2 separate regions of the Homo sapiens genome follow, and region 1 is linked to region 2. The links are contacts of gene promoters, found by promoter capture Hi-C in blood cells and fetal thymus (Javierre and others, 2016). All regions are on one chromosome and are shown on one strand. Each heading gives the region's core, a stretch centred on a gene start or on the middle of the fragment in contact. The rest is flanking DNA. Distances are from core to core; before and after follow the strand shown.

Region 1 (5,619 bases), core at 375-2,874, about 57 Mb before region 2:
TTTCACCGTGTTAGCCAGGATGGTGTGGATCTCCTGACCTCGTGATCCGCCCGCCTCGGCCTCCCAAAGTGCTGGGATTATAGGCGTGAGCCACCGTGCCCGGCCATCTGTTACATATTTTATATCTACTTATGAATTTATCAAATAACTTTGGTCATTTTATAAATTATAATCTTTGTTATATTCATTTGTTGTATTGTTTTATGCAGTTATGCAATGTTTATTGTATAAACGGTCATTTATAATACTTTTATATATTTGTCATATTTCTAAACTTGATACATGTCACCATATATCAGTTTATGCGTTTGTATGGTATGTTTCTATGTCTGGTACATAAGCGATTACACTTTAAACACGTCATCAACTGTAATGTACAGTGCCTAGCATTCTGCGTGAGCCTTCCTAATGCTGGGCTTGCACTACCTGTATTGTAACGTTTAGATTTTTTGTTTGGTTTTGTTTTGTTTGAGATGGGATCTCACTCTGTGGCCCAGGCTGGAGTGCAGTGGCACCATCTCAGCTGTGCAGTGGAACCATCTCAGCTCACTGCAACCTCTGCCTCCCAGGTTCAAGCGAGTCCCCTGTCTCTGCTCCCTAGTAGCTGGGATTACAGGCATGCGCCCATGCCCAGTTGATTTTTGTATTTTTAGTAGAGACGGGGTTTCGCTGTGTTGCCCAGGCTGGTCTCGAACTCCTGAGCTCAAGCGATCCTCCCACCTCGGCCTCCCAAAGTGCTGGGATTACAGGTGTGAGCCACCGCACCTGGCCCACGTTTAGAATCTTTATAGGCAGTGACGAACGCCCCTACGAAGTGTGCGCCCAATATGTACTAAGTGCTTTTCACCCACATCATTTAATCCTTAGACCAGTTTGGTCATTCATGTCCCCATTTCACCAAGGGAGAAGCCGAGGTCAGAGGGGCCAGGTAGACCGCCTGGACCACACGCGGATGGCCGGGACGCGGATTCGGGACGGGAAGCGGATTCGGGCCCGGACGCGGATTCGAGCCCGGCGTTCACACCCTCACCACGCCACAGCCTCCGTGTTCCTCTTCGCCCTGCTGCAGCCCCTTCCTTCCTGTGGTCACAGGGGACAGTCAGGTCGCCAGAAGCGGCGGGGCCGGGGCTGTCCAGCGCAGCAGGGCCGCCCGCCCTCCCCTGCGGCGCCCGCCCCACCTGTCCCGCCCGCAGCCAGGTTGTTCCGGGAGCGCGACGAGGACACCGGGAACGAGGGTGTGCACGGTCCGTCCCGGCCTGGCCGTGGACGTCGCGCTCCGGGGCCGGGGGGCAGAGAGTGAAGACGGAGACAGCAAGAGCGACAGAGAAGTGCTGGGGAGAGAAACACGGAGAGACCCCCCGAGGCGGGGAGACACCGGGGACACCGAGACAGAAAGGCAGAGCCCGCCGTGCGCGGAGGACAGGCGTACGCAGGGCCAGGGCCGGGGCGCGCCGCTCGCGGACCCCGTGTGCCACTCACGCTGAACTCGCCGGCGAGGACTGCCCCCTCCCGGCCGCCCCGCGCTTCCAGCCGCTCCAGGAAGCTCCGCGCCGAGTCCAGGCTGCGGCTCATGGCGCCGCGGGCCAGCAAGGTCCAGCCCGGCCGCCGCGCGCGCGGCGAGTGTGGACGCCGCGGGAGGCGGAGGCCGGTGACTGAGTCCCCGCCCTTGCCTCGGCAGCCAATGGAAGCGCGCAGCGGCGGGCAGGGCGCCCCAGCCACCGTGTTCTGAGCCCGCGTAGCCCCACCCCGGGCGCTCGGGCCGCTGTGGCCGGAGCCCTAGGTCCTCGCGGGCTGCCCTGAGCAGAGTCCAGCGCCGGCGCTTCCCCTTTTTTTCGGCTGCCGCGCCCACTGGTGGGGGGGTGGCACGGTCCCAGGTTCGCTCCCTGCCGCTTGGGACCCGCCCTCAGATCGGGATCCGCGCCCAGGGGCCGACCTCCGGGTGCCGGCTCTGGGTGGACGGCCGAGCGGTCTCGCCGGGCCCTCCCGCCCGTCCCCTGGGAGCCAGGCCGCGCGGAGTCCGAGCTGGGGCGGGCAGCAGCCTTGGGTGGAGACGGTCGCCGAGATCAGGCTGCCCCTCGTGCCAGAGGACCCCGGGTCGGGGGCGTCCCGCGCTGTGCGCTCCAGCCGGGCCCAAGGGAGGCCGGGGAGGGGCAGCCACGCCGTGGGAAAGGCCAAGTGGCAGCGGGATCTTCTCTGTGTATTTCCCGAGGAATTTGTGGTTCCTTTTTCCCGGATGCGCTGGGGCACCAGGGTCAGTCCTGTGTGAGCATCTCGACCTGCACAAGCCTGCTGGGAAACAGAACTGAGGCACTGGAAGTGGGTTCTGGGGAACGAAGAGCTTCTCTTTTTTGCCTGCCCTGACACTCCCATCTTCAGAAAGTGTGCAGAGGTCAGAGGAGAGCCGCCGTTCCAGCTTCCGGGATCACCGAGGGGAGGCTGGAGAGAATGGACTGGCACCTGGGTCTCTTCAAGGACAGGCCTAGGTTAGCCCCCTTCTCGCCGAGGTCGGAAGAATTAAGAGGGGTGTCACTGGAAGGGGCGTCAGTGGACACCAGTTTGAGGTCGTTGAGGGGTTGAAAGGTAGCATTGGGGCCTGGATGTGTGCCTGAGTCTCTGAAGGGTCAACAGGGGCATGATGTCAGGTGGTCAATTTAATTCACTAGGGGCTATCAGAGTATTTAAGGGCACACTTTCTTAAAGGTCCCGGTAGGAAGTGGTTTTGGCTTTGCTATCGCTGCCCCAGCTGCTTAACTCAGCTGTGGCAGCATGAAAGCAGACAATATAGTGTGGCTGTGTCCCAAAGAAACCATTTATGGACAAAGAAATCAGAATTTCATGTAATGTTCATGTGTCATGAATTATTCTAGTGTGTGTGTGTGGCCTACAGGCTGTCGTTTGCTGACCTTGGCTGAAGTGATGGAGCGATCAAAGTGGCTCTGTGGGGATCAGCAGCTAGGGCTGTTTGATTTATCGTGGGGTCCGCAGGGGTCACTGTGAGATTCATGTTCATCATTTATCAGTTTCATCTTTGAGCATTCTCAGGGAGGTAATTGTTTAGGATGGTGGTGATAGGGAATTCATTGGAAGCCAGTCGGGGTCCCTTGGATGTTCATGGGGGGGGGGGTGTCAGTAGATATTAATGACAGTCATTGGGAGGCCAGTGGATACTTGGGACAAGAAGTGAAAGTAATTGTGGGGCCATTGGGATTTGGAGTGTTAGTAATTGAAGGGTCCGAAGAGTCTGGGAAGTCATTGAGAGCTCTGCTCAGTGCATGATAGTGACTCTCAGTATAATCATTGAGGGTTTGTGGATGGCCATGGAGATCCAGGGAGGTAGAATACAGAAGCATCAGTAAGCTTTCAGAAAATAAAGACATTTTCTGGGAAAATGTGAGCCCCTGAGCACACATGGTTATTCAGGGCAGTCTTTATGGGCTAGAGGATCTCTGTCCAGCAGCAGGGATCCTGTTGAGGGCCTGTCCTCATAGGCTGAGGTCTGTCTGACTGGTGGAGGGCATGTCGTCCAGCTGAAGGTCTGGTTGACTAGGTGGGTGGGGTGTTCTCTCCTCTGGGGTAATGTCTCTGTCCATTTTGGGGAGGGCACCTGTCCTTGAGGGATTCTGACCTTTGCCTGGCTGGGGGGCCCAGGTGTCTCTCTGGCCACAGGCCTATTTGGATGTCTGGCTGAGGGTCTACCCATCTGTCAGTAATCTGTCTGTTTGTCCAGCTGGGTGTTTCCCTGGGATTCTGTCCATCTGGAAGTCTGTCCAGCCAGGGTGTGTGTGTGTGTGTGTGTGTGTGTGTGTGTTTGGTGGTTTGTCTATTAGAGGATCTGAGTGACTAGCCAGATGCTGCCTTGTGGCCTGTGAACATTAAGTGGCTGAGGCTGTAGTCTGCCATTTGTACTTCCAGCTGCCTTGAGTGTCTTTCTGTCCTCGTGTTCACCCTCACTCCAAGCCCCACCTTGTTGTTTAACCCACCTGTCCTCCTGACACCTGACCGTTCCTCATGTCTCTCCAAACATCCAAACTCTTAGCTTGCCCTCTGTTCAGCTCAGGCTAGGTGTGGGGGATGGGAAGACCCCACATCTTCCAGAGGCCCTGGCCCACCCCGGCTTTTCTCTCCCGGAGGACTGCCAGCTGTGTTCTTGCAATGAGACTCACTGCTGCTGGTGGCCCTCCTGTTCACGCTGCCAGCAGCAGTCTTGCACAGTGGGAGCTGCTGGCACTGCTACAGAGACCCCAAGTGTACCAAAGCCCACGTGCCATGTGCCAGTCTGTCACCTGCCCACCAGTCAGTGTGGCTACATGGGCCGCTCAACAGAGCCAAGAGGACAAGGTAGAGGAAGATGCACAGGGACAGGTGCACAAGGCTGTGAGTTCAGCCTGCTCTGAGCCTGCAAAGGGGAAAAGAGAAACTACAGTGGAGACCCCTGGCAGACACCCCTTCCTCTGGGATGCTTGCGGGGAGCTCCTTGGAGACTGCTGGCATCTCCAGGGTACAGTTCTTCTCCAGCTTCCTTTTTTGCTTAGTTAAAAAAGGGCAGAGACCATCCTGGCTAACACAGTGAAACCCCGTTCTCTATTAAAAGTACAAAAAATTAGCCGGGCGTGGTGGCGGGCACCTGTAGTCCCAGCTGCTCGGGAGGCTGAGGCAGGAGAATGGCTTGAACCCGGGAGGCGGAGCTTGCAGTGAGCCGAGATTGTGCCACTGCACTCCAGCCTGGGCGACAGAGCAAGACTCCGCCTCAAAAAAAAAAAATCAATAAATAAAAATAAAAAAAGGGCAGAAGACTGGAACCAAAATGTTTGAGTTAGAATTCTGGCACCATGACTTTCTCAGTATGACCTTGGGCAAGTCATTTAATTTCTATGTCTCAATTTCCTCCTCTGTAGGACTGTGTCTCTTCTTGTTGCTTTATTGTGAGAATTTAAGGAAATCATTGTATATAAAGCATTTAGATAGAACAGCACTTGGCTTGCAGTATACACTTGGTACTATTAATATTATTATTACACTGCTAGTTTCCCTTTCTGATATTGCCACGCCCACCTCCTTACTCCCTCCTCTAAGTTAAAACAAAAGTGGAAGGGGGGGCATAAATTTGAAAACATTTTCCCATTGCTTCATTCTGTTAAAAACCTTCAAGCTGGGCAAGTTGTCCTGTTGGTCCATCCACAAGTCTGGCATTTAGCAAACAGGAAAAAGGCAACCCTCTTCAGTGCAAGAGGAAGCATGTGGCTGTGTCCCCCTCCCGTCCGATGCCTGAGAGCTCTAAGTCCTCTGGGAGAGCTTTTGTTCCTGTCTCCTCTAACTCTCCTCAGGCGTGCCAGGTTTCAGTGTTCTGAATCAAAGACTCCTCCTGATCGCTCCATGGGAAAGGGTCAGCAGCTCAGCGCGGTGGAAAGAGAAAGCCAAAGAGAAAGAGGCCAAAGAGAAAGCCACCCTACCCCTTCTCAGCGCTACCACCAAACCCCACAACCCCCAGCTCTTTGTGGAGGCTGACCTGCTGCCCTCGGGAGCTGTCCTGCAATTCTGCTTCAGAAAGGAGGGGAAACCACTAGGAATAGAGGGGAAAGCCCTCTTCCCCATCTTTAAAATGCTCATACCAACTTTTCC
Region 2 (5,823 bases), core at 1,123-3,622:
CAACTGCTGTACTATGCTGCCTCTGCACAGAAGATGAAGACGACTTCAAGAATGAGCAATGCTAGAGACATAAAGGGGAGAGGAAGTACTGTTAAATGCTAATTTCCTTCTACCTTGGGTACAAGCGGGATTCATAGGGCATTTGGTAGAACACCTAAAAGGTGTCTGCGTCCCTAACAGGACAGAGAAAAGCTGCAGGAAGCAGGAAAAGAGCAGAAGATAGAGTCGGACAGGCCAAAATGAATAAGTGAACTGCCAAGTGCACAGAAAGCAGTATCTCAGTCAGGGTCAAACACCACCTCGGAAGCTGGCCCTACTCAATAACAACCCAGGAGATACCATCGAGGCTTGGGACCCACGGAAAGTATCTAAAGCTCCGAGAGACAGAGAAAAGAAGTGTGGGAAGTAGGGCTACAAGGAGCACTTTAGGTGGCTCCAGGACTCACAGCAACTCCCTCGCCCCAAATTTCAAGAAAACGAGACCCAGAGTTAGGTAGCCAACTAGAAAAGCCTTTCTTATGTCACCAGAGTCCGAGCCTGGGTCTTCCCACCTCCGATACAGTGTCTCCATCTACCTTTCCCGTTCTCCTGGCTGAGAGGCTGCAACCCCCAGCAACCACCAGGGCCTGGTACATTCAGTAGGCACTAAAGACGCGTTTATTTAATGACTGAGCGAATGAGTGAATGAATTAAAAGTACTAGGGAAGGCGTCTGCTTCTCTGCACGCTGCGGTGAGGGTCAGCGAGTGAACATAGTGAGTCCCTAGGCGGGCACAATATGAGGTCCCCAATGTGCCTGTGCCGGTTCCAAGAAGCACACGTCTTTACAGCCCGCAAATCTCAGAGCAGCCCCAGCTTCCAAGTCTAGCTGCCGACCGCGTAACCACGGCCGACCTGCACTCGTTTCACGCAAGTCCCGATCATGCGGGGCTAAAAAAGAGGTCCCCGACGTGGGTTCGCGGGCCCGAAGCACCCTGGGACTTGTAGTCCCCAACCGGCCAGCCCAGAGACTCCTCTAAAGCCCCACGCAGCCCTCGCCAACGGCTCCAGCGCCGTGCTCGGGCCGAGCCAGGCCGCGGCTGGCTGGGGTCGCCCCTAAGCTGGGGATCTGGGCGAGGACAGAGGCGGCAAGCAAAAGAGGGTCCTACAGAGCAAGCCCAGGCCGAGCGGCGCCGGCCACCGGCCAGATGGCAGCTGATGGCGACGGATGCGCGAGACGCCACTCACCATCATTTTGGAAGCTTATTCAGCGGCCCGCCACTCTCCCCTCTTCTCCGAGACCGGGCCGCCCAGCAACCCACAATGCCTCGCGCAATAGAAATACCCAGAAGCTTGGGCCGGGAGAGGAAGAGAACGGACCACTTCCGCTACTCTATGGTTCGTTACCACCGACTCGGTGCGGCTAGAAGGACCTGAGGCTGGGCTTCGGGGACTCTCTAGTGAGGGGCGTTCATTAAAGAGGGGTCGCCGCATTTCGGTCGTGCTTCTTAGAGCACGGAGGGTCTTTGCTCGGCCCGCATCACCTACTAACTTAATTCCACCCTCCTCCATCCCCGGACGCCAGACCAAGGAATGCAATAAAGGCAAAAGTGTGGGACGCAAAGTGTGGGATAGGCTGGTGCCAAAGCACTTTACGTGAGCGATCTCATTTAATCCTCACAACCCTATTGCGTTGGTCCTATTAAGGCCATTTTACTGATGACAGAAAGGAGGCTGAGAGGTCAAGGTGTCCAGTGTCACAGTTACATAGTCAGTGTCAACGGGACGAGCGTGGGAAGCTGCCCCCAATGCCCGTTTTCTGGCTTTGCACTGGCCAGAGGCTCCTCGTGGATGGCGTGCGCCAGGCCGCGGCCCCAGCGCCTATCCACGGTGAGCGCGCAAGCGTTGGTGGCACTGGGCGGAAGACCCCCTGGCGCAAGACGAGTGCCTTCCCGTGAAGGCGTGGGGAGGAGGGAAGCGCAGCTGGGAGGAGGGAAGCGCAGCTGGGAGAAGGCTAATCGTCGTCAATCGAGGCGGCCTTGGAGTGGACAGGACCGAGACCGCAAGGGTTAACGGCCTCGACTATCGACAGCTGAAGCAAGTCCGGCTACGGGCACACCTCCAGTGCTTGTCCTCCCTGGCCCGCCCACCGCCAGCGAGGACCCGGAGAGTATGCTGGGGCGGGGCTGAGGCGAAGGCCGGTTGTAGCTGTTAAGAGTTTAAGCCAATCAGCCCCCGGCTCCACTTCTCTCGACCAATAGGAAGTAGGCTAAGGCGCAGAGGCGGAAAGTGTGGCTACATGAGCAGGCGTCAGAGCCAATCAGCCTTGAGCCTCGTTCCCGTCGTCCAGCCCGCGGCGAGAGCGGGTATGTGGGCGGGAGGCCGGAGCAGCTGTCAGGCTGAAGTCCTGCGAGCGACGCGCGGCGGGGCGGCGAGAGGAAACGCGGCGCCGGGCCGGGCCCGGCCCTGGAGATGGTCCCCGGCGCCGCGGGCTGGTGTTGTCTCGTGCTCTGGCTCCCCGCGTGCGTCGCGGCCCACGGTGAGCGGCAACGGGTGGGACTGCGTTGCAGGGCGGGGCTGGCCGTCCAGCTTGCGCGCGTCTCGGGTTGGGGGCCAAGGGTCACCTTGGGGACCCTGCGAGTTCAGAGCAGGACAGGTCTGGGAGCGGGCGGCCGGAATAAGTGGGTGGTGGTCCAAGGACATAAAGTGGGCGCAGCCTGAGGCTGAAGCTCTGACTCCTCACCTTCCCACGACAAAGCAGATCTCCCCACTCGCCCCTCCCCGCCCACTAGCGCCGACCCAGGTGACTTAGGGTGCGACCAGAAGGGACAGCTAAGGAAGGATACTACAGGCTGGAGATATGTATGTGAGCATTCACATGTACACAGGAGCACACATTCCTACACGTGGGCACACACGCACAAACCGTTTACACCTACACAAGCACATAAATGTATACATCTATGCACATAAGTGAGCACATACGTATACCCACAACTTACACAAATAAGCACACACAAAGGCAAGCAAGGGTTGGGGAGGAGGGAGTGAGTTTGACGCTAGTCCAGGAAGGCTTTCTGGGGGTGTATTTGTATCCGAGAGGGAGTCCCCACTCCCAGGACTGTATAGCCCAGTGCCAAGCCATGGGAGCTCTAACTGATGGCTGTGATTTGGGCAGTAAACAAAGACAGCTAAAGCCTTAATGCCATCCTTGGTACACAGTAGTGACTTGGTAGTTTGTTGATAGACTAACAGACTTGTGACAGCAGTTTTCTTTTTTTCTTTTTTTTTTTTTTGAGACGGAGTCTTGCTCTGTCGCCCAGGTTGCAGTGCAGTGGCCCGATCTCGGCTCACTGCAAGCTCCGCCTCCCGGGTTCACGCCATTCTCCTGCCTCAGCCTCCCAAGTAGCTGGGACTACAGGCGCCCACCACCACGCCCGGCTAATTTTTTTGTATTTTTAGTAGAGACGGGGGTTTCACCGTGTTAGCCAGGATGGTCTCGATCTCCTGACCTCGTGATCTGCCCGCCTCGGCCTCCCAAAGTGCTGGGATTACAGGCGTGAGCCACCGCGCCCGCCCATGACAGCAGTTTTTATCTTTCAACATTCCGCAGTCTCTCTGGGTTAAGGAAACCAGGGACTCAAGTCCAGGTACAACATTAAACTTTGGTGCTGAGGAGAAGATCCCATGCCCCAGAAAAATCTAGTGGTCTGGAAATTCTCTTCATCGGTGCTGTGGAGCTAGATATAGTTGTTCACCCATTCAGGAAAGTTTATAGGGCTATCCCTATATTGTAGCCACTGTGCAAGACACTGGTGACTCTTCACTGAATGAAGTTACAAAGTGGAAGAGGCAGATATTTAAAAATTATGAATCCAGGGCAGGTGCGGTGGCTCACGCCTGTAATCCCAGGACTTTGGTAAGCCAAGGTGGGAGGATCACAAGCCCTGGCAACAAGGCGAGACCCCATTCCTATTTAAAAAATGAAAAAAAAAAATCAGCCTGGTCAACATGGCGAAACCCTCTCTACTAAAAAATACAAAAAAAAATTAGCCAGGCATGGTGGCGCACGCCTGTAGTCCCAGCTATTTGGGAGGCTGAGGCATGAGAATCGCTTGAGCCTGGGAGGTGGAGGTTGCTGTGAGGCGAGATGGCGCCACTGCACTCCAGCCTGGGTGATAAAGTGAGACCCTGTCTCAAAAAAAAGAAAAAGAGGCCGGGCGCGGTGGCTCACGCCTGTAATCCCAGCACTTTGGAAGGCCCAGGCGGGTGGATCACGAGGTCAGGAGATAGAGACCATCCTGGCTAACACGGTGAAACCCCGTCTCTACTAAAAATACAAAAAATTCTCCGGGCGTGGTGGCGGGCGCCTGTAGTCCCAGCTACTCCGGAGGCTGAGGCAGGAGAATGGCGTGAACCCGGGAGGCGGAGCTTGCAGCGAGCCTAGATCGCAACACTGCACTCCAGCCTGGGTGACAGAGCGAGACTCCGTCTCAAAAAAAGAAAAAAAGAAAAGTTATGAAAGCTGTATAATTACAAATTATGTTGAAAGTCCCCATTTATTAAAAAGTACATTTGAATGGGTATGGGAGGGCAATCATGAGGCAGAAGCTTTCTCTGAGGAAGTGACATTTAAGGTGTGACCTGAAGGATGACTAGGAAAGAGTCAGGTAAAGGGGTGGAAGTAGGGTGGCGTGGGAGTAGGGGGCCTTCCAGGCTCAGGGAACAGCCTGCAGAAAGACCCAGAGAAGTGAAGACACTGAAAGGCCAGTGTAGCTTGAACACAGGATGGAGGAGATGAGGTTGGAAGAGTGGCCAGGGGCCACAGCAAACAGGGTCTTGTAGGCCACAGTTTAAAAAGAGTTTAAATTTTAAATGCAAAGGGCAGTTATTGAAACCCTAGGTATGGTGATGTGCTCATAATTGCTAAGATGTTTTCGATTTCTGGTTGTTGCTTGGGGAGCAAGAATGGAGGCAGGGAGGCCAGGTAAGAAGCTGAGCTGTCAGGACAAGAGATGATAGTGACTAGACTTAAGGGGATGGCAGTGGGACCAGAAAGTCAACTTTTAAATTTTAGTGAGAATTGCTTTGTACGCAGGCCACTACATCTCTACCCTGAAACTCCCAGGTCTTCAGAGCAAAAATACTAACCCTGGAGCTCTCAGTTTTCCTGGCTTACTGCGTAAGCAGCAGCAGCAGCTGATATAAGCCTCTGGGGTTAATGACTCTGCATCAACTCTATCCTCCCCAGGACAGAGGCCATCTAGCCCCCAACCCTGCCACTAGTGGACCCCGTTGGCTGAAGCCAGGACCCTGAGCCCAGACTATAGCCAGCCCAGCTGAAGACACAGGGTCTGGGATCTGAACCTGAACCAGCTTGTTCCTGGGAGGCTTCTTACCTGTACTCTTTATCCTTCAGGCTTCCGTATCCATGATTATTTGTACTTTCAAGTGCTGAGTCCTGGGGACATTCGATACATCTTCACAGCCACACCTGCCAAGGACTTTGGTGGTATCTTTGTAAGTTAAGGGAGGCCCCTGATCTCTGATCCTCAACCTCCCCCTTCCCCTCACTGAGCTGCAGTGACCCTCTCATCCCACCTGAGTGCTGGGACAGGGAAGGGAGCAGAATCAGCTCTGCCTTCCATGAGCTGCAGCACAGAAAGGAAGCTCTTCCAGCTACTCCCCTGAGTATAATATAAACCTAGGCACCATGGAGGGACAAGTTGTCTTTTTAGGGGACATGAAGTGAAAAGCCAAGAGCACCAGCTTCCTCTGCCAGCTCTACCTGTGAACTATGTGACTTAAGGCACATCACTTCCTCTCTCTGGATCTACAACCAAGT

What was found. The method cuts DNA at HindIII sites, captures the fragments that hold promoters and counts their contacts. A CHiCAGO score of 5 or more calls a contact.
Region 1: the fragment with the promoter of PTPN18 here is called in contact with the fragment with the promoter of PRADC1 in region 2 in 1 of 17 cell types (total B cells); the score reaches 6.6 in total B cells.

What each region holds. Positions count from the first base shown.
Region 1 is chr2:130,352,061-130,357,679 of GRCh38, reverse strand. It overlaps PTPN18 (protein tyrosine phosphatase non-receptor type 18), which reads right to left and starts at 1,624. Exons shown (of 15, transcript NM_014369.4): 1 at 1,480-1,624. The coding sequence starts at 1,572. RefSeq lists silencers at 1,185-1,234, 1,375-2,044. The HindIII fragment of the contact is 15,291 bases long and covers 1-3,359 here.
Region 2 is chr2:73,229,788-73,235,610 of GRCh38, reverse strand. PRADC1 (protease associated domain containing 1) reads left to right here and starts at 2,372. Exons shown (of 5, transcript NM_032319.3): 1 at 2,372-2,517; 2 at 5,398-5,498. The coding sequence starts at 2,451. It overlaps CCT7 (chaperonin containing TCP1 subunit 7), which reads right to left and starts at 1,303. Exons shown (of 12, transcript NM_006429.4): 1 at 1,227-1,303. The coding sequence starts at 1,232. RefSeq lists enhancers at 1,416-1,485, 1,606-1,655, 1,297-1,828 and a silencer at 2,116-2,325. The HindIII fragment of the contact is 3,259 bases long and covers 1,333-4,591 here.